3 separate regions of the Homo sapiens genome follow, and regions 2 and 3 are each linked to region 1. Evidence: promoter capture Hi-C in 16 types of primary human blood cells and fetal thymus (Javierre and others, 2016). All regions are on one chromosome and are shown on one strand. The core of a region is centred on a gene start or on the middle of the fragment in contact, and the rest is flanking DNA. Distances in the headings are between cores, read along the strand shown.

Region 1 (3,664 bases), core at 491-2,990:
ATCAAATTCTAGTCTCTCCAAGCTGAGATGATATTAGTCTTTTTTTAAAAAAACTCCTCACACATTTCTACCATGCAGCCAGAGTTAAGAAGCACCAGCCTAGTGCCCAGGAACACCGCAGCGGCAAAGATTATTAGGAGTCAATGATTTTATTAAACTGACCTGTTTAGTGAGATGGTGGCAAATTCTTTCAAGGTAGATTATCTGTAGGGAGAAGGAAGTATGGGCGTTCAAGGCAAGAGATAGAAAGTGGAAGTCATTAACTTACAGGGGATTTTTCTTTTTTTTTTTTTTTTTTTGAGATGGAGTCTTGCTCTGTCACCCAGGCGTGATCTCTGCTTACTGCAACCTCCACCTCTCGGGTTCAAGCAATTCTCCTGCCTCAGCCTCCCAAGTAGCTGGGACTATGGGCATGTGCCACCAAGCATAGCTAATTTTGACTTACAGGGGATCTTTAAAGCTGTGTTAGCAGGTACCTCTAAAAGACTGCAGAGAGAACAGAGAAACTAACACAGATTTGTGGACCACTGCTTCCATGGTTTATCAGAGTAATGAGTGGATTATGGGTAAATAAAATGGGAAATCAGCAAACAGGAATCAAAAAGCAGGGGCAAACCGTCAGTCATCAATCACATGCAATGAAAAGATCCCTTGTCAATACTGAACTCTGACTTTTTGCATTATTTTCTTCCTTCCCTCCCCTTCTAAATGGGCTTAGCTTTACCAGGTAGTCTCCTAGCTTTGTAGAATTTTTCCTATAAAATGCTTGCCAAAAGAAAGAGAAACACTTGCCTACCTTTTCATGTCTGCCCTTAAACATGTGAGTGGCACTCCAAGTGGTATTTTCCTCCGTCTCTGCTCTATTTTAGCTGACTGTTTCCTGCTGCCTGAAATTAGCCTGCCCCTAACTGTATAGATTACTTAGGTATGGCTTGCCTAGAGTAATAGATCCTAGTATTAAAAACTTTTGAATAATTCCTATCCACTAAAGTTATTTGATTTTAATTGAACTGAGCAGAATAAACTGACCTCTTCCAAATATTAATAAGTCAGATTGAATGAATCTTTCTGGGTTTTATTCTGCCTCTTAGCATCAAAGCAGAATTTTCCAACTTGAAAATCTTAAAAAGAGACCCTCAGTTATAGTCCGCTTTTAATGCCTGCTTAACTCATTCTGAAATAAATAAGTGGTAAAAGGAACAGGACTACCATCATCTGCTTAGGTTAATCATTGGTAGTGGAAAAAAATTGCTGAGTCAGCCACAGTGATGCTGTGCTGGTTAAAGTCTCACAGATCCTCACAGTTAATGACCATGATTGGTGAAGCAGTTCTCCAATATCACCTTTATTGTCTGTATGAAATCCTTCATATTTTGTAAGAGATGTAATTTCACTCTGTGTTCACATGGTATTGTCAACCACCAACAGTCAATGAGAGACAGATAACATAAGATGGACAGAGGTGGAACAGAGACGATAGAAACAGAAACCAGGGCCACGTTGTGGGAGAAAGTACAGCATGGGTTAGTTCCATAAGTGGTCAGTTCAATCGTGAATATTTTTACTTTATGATCACTCGTTCTTCTCGGTGTAATCTTGTAACTTCTGGGACTCACACAATTCATTTTTTAATGAAAATGTACTTACATTGTCTTATATATTGTAGTATTTGCATTTTTGAGTATATACTTCTTGATTCTGTAGTTAATTTCATCAAACATATCTTTCTGATATGACCCCTGTTTAAAAAAAAAAAAAAGTGAACCTTTTGAAACTCAAGCCTGATCAAGCTACTTCTTGCTTAAAATACTTCAGTGGTTTTCCACTGGTTTTTAGGAGAAACACCAAAATCCCTAATAGGGCCTACAAGCCAAGCAGTGTGTGGCCACTGCCTGCCTTGGAACATACTCTACCTTGTCCTTTATATTCCAGAATTTGTAAAATGGCTGAGTAACAAGTTTAATCACATTATTACATGATGTTCTCTCTTGTTCTCCCAAATTTTCATGTAAAAATTCCTTATACAGTTATAATGCACCCTAAACACAAGGTATTAGTTAAATTCTTATATATTCCATATTTTTATATAAGACTTTTAAAAAACTTTCTCAAAAAGAACTTTTCAATTAAAAATCATTTTCTCACACAGTAGATTAGTCCTTAGGCAGACTGTTCGTGTTGCTATTTAAAATGCCATCTTTTTCTTTGCCAATTTTGTTTTGTTTTGTCTCCCTCACCATCTTTTCACTTCTCGTTATCTCCTGCAGCACTCAAACTTGTTGCTAAAATTTGGTGAAAATGTTTGACAAACTCTATCGTGAATAACAAGTAGATCTTATTAAATTTGAATTCTGAAGTCTGATCTTGGGTGACCTCCTTTCTCTAAGCGTTCATTTTTCAATTATGCCAGACTGGGGCAGGGGAGAGGGTAAGAGGTAGTATTTATTTCCTATGATTACACAAGTAATTTATTCTTTGTAGAACATGTGCAAAGACTAAAAATACACAAAGAAGCAGAAAAATAGTCCATAATCTTAACACTCAGAGACAACCAATGATAATACCCTGGTGTATTGACTGCTCCCACTCTGGTGCCAGTCACCAGCACCTCACACTGAAACCAACCCAATAGTCCCATAGATCAGCAGTCCCCCAACCTTTTTGGCACTAGGGACTGGTTTTGTGGAAGACAATTTTTCCACAAACCATAGGGGGTGGGCAGGGGGAGTGCCGGCAGGTGATGGTTTCAGCATGATTCAAGCACATTACATTTATTGTGCACTTTATTATGCTGGGGAACTGTTGGCATAATTGTGTTTTGAAATGTGAGAAAGGTGAGATTTGGGAGGGACCAGGGGCAGAATGATATGGTCTGGATCTGTGTCCCCACTGAAATCCCATCTTGAATTGTAATCTGAATTGTAATCCCCACCTGTTGGGGAGGGAACTCATGGGAGGTGATTAGATTATGGGATGGTTCTCTCATGCTCTTCTAATGATAGCAAGTGAGTTCTCACAAGATCTGATGGTTTTATCAAGTGTTTTTCCACCTTTGTTTGGCACTTCTCTCTCGCCACCATGTGAAGAAGGACACATTTGCCTCCCCTTCTGCCATGATTGTAAGTTTCCTGAGCCCCTGTGGAATTATGAGTCAATTAAACCTTTTTCCTTTATAAATTACCCAGTCACAGGCAGTTCTTTATTGCAACATGAGAACAGACACAATTATGCCAACAGTTCACCAAAGTCTTAACTCATTTCAGCATTAACCCAAAAGTCTTAAGTTCACAGTCTCATTGAGACCAGGCAAGTCCCTTCTGCCTATGAGCCTAGTAGGATGTGGGTGGGGCCAGATAAAAGAAAAAAAGCAGGCTACCCGAGCCAGCAGTGGCAACCTGCTTGGGTCCACTTCCACACTGTGGAAGCTTTGTTCTTTTGCTCCTTGCAATAAATCTTGCTGCTGCTCACTCTTTGGGTCCACACTGCCTTTATGAGCTGTAACACTCGCCGCGAATGTCTGCAGCTTCACTCCTGAAGCCAGCGAGAGACCACGAACCCACCAGGAGGAATGAACAACTCCAGACACGCCGCCTTAAGAGCTGTAACACTCACCACGAAGGTCTGCAGCTTCACTCCTGAGCCAGCAAGACCACAAACCCACCAG
Region 2 (3,407 bases), core at 307-2,806, 1.1 Mb before region 1:
GAATTATGAGGGATGTTAAAAGAAAGAAATTTTTGGCCGGGTGCGGTGGCTCACGCCTGTAATCCCAGCACTTTGGGAGGCTGAGGTGGGCAGATCACAAGGTCAGGAGATCAAGACCATCCTGGCTAACATGATGAAACCCCGTCTCTACTTAAAAAAAAAAAAAAAAAAAAAAATACAAAAAATTAGCCGGGCGTGGTGGTGGGTGCCTGTAGTCCCAGCTACTCGGGAGGCTGAGGCAGGAGAATGGCGTGAACCCGGGAGGCAGAGCTTGCAGTGAGCCGAGATCGCGCCACTGCACTCCAGCCTGGGCGACAGAGAGAGACTCTGTCTGTCTCAAAAAAAAAAAAAAAAAAAAAAAAAAGAAAGAAAGAAATTTTTGTTATATAACCACATTTGAATTTTATTCTAGGTCTATCCACATTTGGGCATTGGAGCTAGAAAGACTTCAGTTTGATTTTTGTTCTGAAATTATTTATTTTGTGACCTGATGGGGTGACCAACCATCTTAGTTTGTCTAAGGCGTTCCCAGACACTGAAAATCCTGCATCCTGGAAAATCCCTCAGTTCCTTGCAAGCTGAGATGGCTGGTTCACCCTAAAATAGGCAAGTAATTTAACACCCGGGTAGCTCATTCTCTTCACCTATATAATGTAGACAATGACACCTCGAAGAACTGTTAAGAGGATTAAAAACAACAAAGTATCAAGCACCCAGCACATACCTGGCTGTAGGAGAAACTGAAAAATACTGGCTTCAAATAATAACTTTTTCCTGGCTATGAAATTTTGGAATGGGAGGCTCCTTAAACCAAAAACTATGCCGACACTTTACAACGTACCTAATTTGGTCTGATGGACTATTTGATGATAAGGAAGAACAGTTTTCTACACCACAGAAGAGTTCCAAACATTTGCTAGTAAATTCTTAAAGTCTTCTGGTGATTGAATAAGGTGTGCTATGAAACAAAAATTTAAGTTTTCAGGCATTCTCTGATAAACCTATGCACACATCTGCCTCCTTGAAGAAATCTCACTAAGAGAATTCAGACTTCAGGCAGATATCTTGGGCATGCTTGTTCACATTATAAGGATCCTTTCTTTCATCTATCAAGTTTCCTAGTAGCTTCTTTCTGCAGCAATGGAAATGCTCTATACCTGTGCTGTCCGATATCATAGCCACTAGCCACATGCAGCTCTTCAGCCTTTGAATGTAGTTACGGAAACTAGGGATAAGATTTTCAATTTTACTTAATTTTAGTAAATTTAAATTTAGATTGCCTTCCTGTAGCCTAGTGGCTGTATTGGAGGGAGAGGAGCTCTAGTATATTTGTTAGCTGTTAGAATTGATGATTAATAGAGAAGCTAAGACAAATGGAGGAGGAAACACTGATAATGATATCTTAATTAGAACAGAGGATGGAGCTATTTCCAAAATTATTTAATTCAGTAGACAAGTAAGGATTTATTGAACAGAAGGACAGTTAGTGAACAACTTTTCAGAATGGCTGTCATGTCACCCAGGAGTTTGGGAAAGGACATCGAGGAGAGGCTGGAAGTCATGGAGTCTTGAATTTCACTTGTAGTTCTGGCCTGCCCTAACCTGCTGAGTATCCCTGCATAAGTCACTTACCTGCACTGGGCCATTTTTCTCTAAGATCCTTTAAAACCCCCAATATCTTTTGAAAGGAGAGTACTTGCACATTGTAACTATTTTTTTTCCCCTGGTAGGCATATCTAAAAGTCATTCTGATTTTAGCATTTTTGAACTAGTAGGGAAGGAGAGAAATGTATTGTGAGAAAAAAAAAAAACAACTTTTCTCTGGAGAGAATCTGAGTTAACGTAATTCAAATTCATAGATACTCAGTCTTTACTTACTATGAACACAGTCCCCTACAAGATGGATAAAATAAATTCTCTGTTCTTTTACCACTTACAGCCTGGTTGAGGAGGCAGGTAGGACAACTCAATAGGATCCAAGGAAGAATGAAATAAATGTGCAATGTGCATACAATTTGGGGTGAGGCCACAGAGGGAAGGTCTTTTTTTCACAGGGATATGCACAGGGTGGGTGGCGTTTGGCCACTTGGGCCTTGCAAGAGAGACTGATGCCTTCAACAGGGACAGAAGACGAGGAATCAGGTTTGACTAAACCGTTTGGGGTTTAAGGACCCAGAGTATTTGGGCAATGGTATAGTCACTTTTATTTTTTATCTTGCTGAAACAACTCACATTTGGTATTACTAAAGAATGAATAGAGTCCTAACTTTTGTTCATTATTTACGGCATCTCTTCCTTTCCTTTTGATAATTTTAGCACATTTCTGATGATGATTATAAACTTCCATTGTCTTCCCAAATGTACCTCTTTTAGAAGGGCATTCTAGGTGAGGGAGCATTGTGAGAAAATACAGGGAGATATGAGTGATGATTTCTACCAGGTACTCATTATGATGCAATCACTCAACAAAACAATTTTGAGGACCTGTGGTGTAGGCTATAATAGGATTCTACCTGCATTTGATCTTGCAACCCTAAGTCAGCTGCTAATTAGACTGCATATTTATCTTTTTCTCCTCCGAAGTGCCTATTAACACTCAGCTGCCCACACACAAAAAAGCCTATGCAAACAGCTTCTACCAAGGCTGCTGTCCCTTCTGGTGGCTTTCCAGACCTCCCTCACACAATTTTCTTAATTATATCTTCCACCATCCCCAGCTGTACCCCTGGAGCAGCTGCCACTAATCCTAAATAAATATTTCCTGTTCTCCTTAGAAACAATTAAACTTAGCCTTTACCAAACCTTTGGCATCTGAGGCTCACACTGGTGGTGGTGCAGCAGTTGCTTTTTGTCCTTGTAAACTGAGCAGAGACTAATTCTATTCTTAAAGTCCTTTTTCTTGAAACAGAATCGCCTCTGCTGATGTGTCTCTAACCTTTTGGTTATGCATACTGAATTGATAGCTTAGAAAATCGCTCACAGCCGCTTTCTGCCCTCCAGGCAACATAGAAACATAGAAAGAGGTTGTGGGCCTGGGGCTGATTGAGGCTCAAGCAGAGCCTGACTTTTCTCCGCAGCAGTGGATGCTGATGGTCGGAAGCATTGGTTCCCAAACTTGGCTGCCTTTGGGAGTAACCTAGAGAGTTTTAAAAATGCTGATGCTTGGGCCCACTCCAAGAAATCTCATTTAATTGCTCACGGAGGTGACCATGGGCATTGGGATAGTTAAAAAGCTTCCCAGGTGACTGGTCTAAATGAACTCCCTTCACACACTTCCTGGCTCTCTGTCTAGGTCCATTTTTACCCTGTTTTGGTTCCCTCTGATTGTCAGTAAGGCCAAGGCAGAAGAGATTGGTATTCAGACCTTCTTTGTCAGCCTAGATCTGCTTTTAACTGCAGGTCTAGCC
Region 3 (3,689 bases), core at 40-2,539, 1.2 Mb before region 1:
GTTGAAGCAACAGATTAGAAATCTGATGACTATGACTATTTATGTATATACGTATGTAAATATAGCATCAGAACATCTGGATTAAAAAATAGAAAAATGTCTACATAGTTATCCATAGATATGGATATATAGATATAGATATAGATATATACTTATAAATATATAAAATGCTAAATATCTGGCTGAATAGTTTATGTGCTTTCTCAGTTTTATTTGGACTTAGACTAAGTGTGGACACAACATGTGAGTTCTGATATCAGTTATGTAAATAAGACTCTGTTTGTTCATAATTCGGGTTCTAGGTCTTTTTTCTTCTTAGGAAGCAGCTGGTAACATCGGTGACATTTCTAATGCACTTGGACACACCTGACAATACCCTACCTTGATGAAACAGGTGAATGCCTATGCCTTTTAGGGAGCAGAGCCAAACTTGAAAGGCACTACCACCACTGTACAGCTAGCTGGATCTTCCTTCACAGATTTGGAAATGTTTACTTAACTGAACTGTGTGGCTGCAGTTTCTAGGTATTTGATAAGGAAGAAGAGGAGTGACATGCCTCTCCTCAGAATGAAGCAGCAATATAGTCTTGTGTATTCTTTATGTTTTGAAGTTACACCTAGACCCAGGGACATGACAACATGGTTTGGGGATCACTAGTAAACCCCTGGGCACCTCTTGGTTGTCCCCAGGACTGCTTTCTGAGGTATTACAGTATGACGCTGTGTAAGCTTTGGTTTCTGGTATGAATTAACTTGATATATTTATTATATTACTTATGATTTTTAATGAAAACCAGACATCATCTCGTTGGTGTTTCACCAAAGCACTGCCACATTTACTTATTTATTTACTTTTGTGGTCAATGAGGTTTTGGGTTTTTTAAAAATCTCACTGATATTAGGTTGGTGCAAAGGTAATGGCAAAAACCACAATTACTTTTGCACCAGCCTAATACTATCCATAGACAAAAACATTGTATCTTGGTTTATTCTACATTTTATAGGTTGGTGCAAAAGTAATTGTGGTTTTCACCTTTTTTTTTTTTTTTTTTTTTTTTGAGACGAATTCTGGCTCTGTCACCAGGCTGGAGTGCAGTGGTGCAATCTTGGCTCACTGCAACCTCCACCTCCTGGGTTCAGACAATTCTCCTGCCTCAGCCTCCCGAGCAGCTGGGACTAGGGGCATGCACCACCATGCCCAGCTAATTTTTGTATTTTTAGTAGAGACGGGGTTTCTACTACGATCATGTTGACCAGGATGGTCTCGATCTCTTGACCTCGTGATCTGCCTGCCTCAGCCTCTCAAAGTGCTGGGTTTTTACCTCTTTTTAATGGCCAAAACTGCAATTACTTTTGCACCAACCTAATAAACAATTCGATAAACATTTCTTGAGTTCATCACACACTTGGATGAGTGCTGCAGCTATCTGGATGAAAAGCTATGATTCCTGCCCTTAACAAATTCATAGCCTAGTAGAGAAGACAGAGGACAAATAATTGTTTTAGAGATTGTAAAACCTGGTGATTTAGTGACAGGCTTGGAATGACATCCTCTGGATCTGAATCTTTTCTCTTGCCATATACTAACTGTGTGCTCTTGAATAAGTTTCCTAATGTCCCTTTATCTCAGAAAGGATAATCAACATCTAAATAAGGGTAAAAACTGTACCCTCTTATAAAGTTATTGTGATAATTAAAAGAATTAATACATGTATGAAGTGTTTCAAACAGTGCCTGGCAAAAAACAGAAGTCTAATAAATGTTAGCTTCTACTGTGATTCCTCAGAATTATGGCGGCAATAAAATAAATGCATTTGCATCAAAATCACCTGGTGATGGGGGAAGCTTAGTAAATGCAGATTCCTGGGCCTCCATCTCAGAGTTTCTAATTTAGTAGGTCTAGGTGGAGCTTGGGCTTCTGCTATTTTAATAAGCACCCGGGTTGGAGGTCTTTTTAAAGGGGTGGTGGCTGGCGAAAAGTTGTGGGTGATGAAGTTAGAAAGTGAAAGTAATTTCTGGAGAGTACCTGAGACCATCTAATTAAAGCATTTCAGTGAATAAATGGGTCAAATTGGTTTCTGATTTCATGTGGACAAAAATGAGGGATGGAGTAGAAGTTCGATCTTGCAGTTTGTCATGGTGGTGATAAGTAGAAACAGTCAATACTGTGCTAGTTAATCATTATGTCATATTCTCTTCTGATAACCAGCACTGAGCATTTCTAGGGAGAATTCAGCTTAGATGCTGGTAGTGGGGATATTTAGACACAGCAATGAGTTAAAAATAAGGATGTGAGCTCTCTCCCTCTTCCTCTTATGAATATCTCCCAAAAAAAGGTAGGCTTTTACCCATCTGAGGTGTTTAGATATTTGGGATATTTTAGATATTTTAGATTTGGATATTTGGATGCTTGGGAGTACTTAGGTAATGCCTCAAAATATCTACTCCATAAAATGAGAAGGGATCTTGGGGAAAAATGTTACTTTCTCTTTCTGTAGCATTAATAAAACTATGGAAATAGTGAGGGAATAGTCAATGGTCTTATAGTACAGATAAATAAATGAATTTCCGGCAGAATACGTGATTTTCTTCCTGCATTGTTTTAGACGAGATCGGGTGCGTTCAGGGTGGTATGGACGTATACCTTGCATTGTTTTAAACCAAGGGGATTTTACAGTGAATTTGAACAAGAAGAAAGTTCCAAGTGAAATCTGGCCATTGCTTTACATTTAATCTTTACATTGCTTTATGGTAGAACAAAACTTTTTGTCAGTTGTATGGTGGATTCTATGATTCACCTGATCCAGCAGGGGAAAGAAGGAGATTCTTTGGGAAACCTTGTTTGGTGACATGCAGTTGTTGGTGAGGTAAAGGGAAGGGACTAAAAAGGTAGTCAGAAATTGATTAGTTGTCAGAGACATTCAAGGGTCACCTTTGTTTTTTCTTTCTTTTTAAAATTGTCATTCTTCAGACATTCTATAGATGCTGTTTATTTATCATGCTATTAGCAGAAACTATGCTGCTCTAAAAAGTTACATAATCAAACCAAATCCTTATCCAATTTCACTGCAGTGGGACTCTGCCCACTGTGTGCTGCTCCATTATTATTGTATCAGCTTTTTAGCAATAATTGACGTCTATCTGATATAAAAATTGATACTTGGCAGAGGAAAAGAAAACCTGTTCTTTTGTGCTTAGGGCAAGTGGATGGTAACTTGCTTAAAACCCGTTTGGGAGTCAAATTGGAATATCTCTCAGCAACATTTCCCCACTTAGGTACAGTAACCGGAAGGTAGCATCCAAAAAATGTAAACCATTGTTGGGCTTCTGGATGTCTCTGAGAGAGCCTGTGTTTAGATTAATGGACGGTCGACTGAATAGGGGGTCATGATGAGTGGCCAGACTCTTTGCAACACAGTAGGCCTATTGTACATCTAACAGCGACTCAATTCAAAGCGATTCATGGCTTGGATGCTTCTGTAAATATACATTAGCCTTTAAGCAAACCAGGAATTATACCAGCTTTTATTTTTTTCTTTAAGAGAAGAAAATAAGAGAAAAAAGAATGAAACAAACACCAGAGAACTTTCTTTTGCAACAATGCCTTCTTTTCCTTTTGACATTGTTTTTTAAAGTTGCGGCAGTCCTGGGTGAATGAATATGGGTTTTTATCCCTTGAAACAGAGGCC

What was found. Contacts are between HindIII fragments. The CHiCAGO score rates a contact against its expected background, and 5 or more counts as called.
Region 2: a fragment that was not itself captured here is called in contact with the fragment with the promoter of LINC02869 in region 1 in 1 of 17 cell types (M0 macrophages); the score reaches 6.3 in M0 macrophages.
Region 3: a contact is called between a fragment that was not itself captured here and the fragment with the promoter of LINC02869 in region 1, in 2 of 17 cell types (monocytes and M0 macrophages). The highest score is 6.1, in monocytes.

Annotation. Positions count from the first base shown.
Region 1 is chr1:218,508,171-218,511,834 of GRCh38, reverse strand. LINC02869 (long intergenic non-protein coding RNA 2869) reads right to left here and starts at 1,740. Exons shown (of 3, transcript NR_146760.1): 1 at 1,648-1,740. The HindIII fragment of the contact is 5,893 bases long and covers 1-3,427 here.
Region 2 is chr1:219,576,580-219,579,986 of GRCh38, reverse strand. No RefSeq gene overlaps it. Among named protein-coding and RNA genes, the nearest start is that of LYPLAL1-AS1, 21 kb to the right of the region's middle. The HindIII fragment of the contact is 3,359 bases long and covers 1-3,235 here.
Region 3 is chr1:219,661,630-219,665,318 of GRCh38, reverse strand. No RefSeq gene overlaps it. Among named protein-coding and RNA genes, the nearest start is that of ZC3H11B, 50 kb to the right of the region's middle. The HindIII fragment of the contact is 1,116 bases long and covers 732-1,847 here.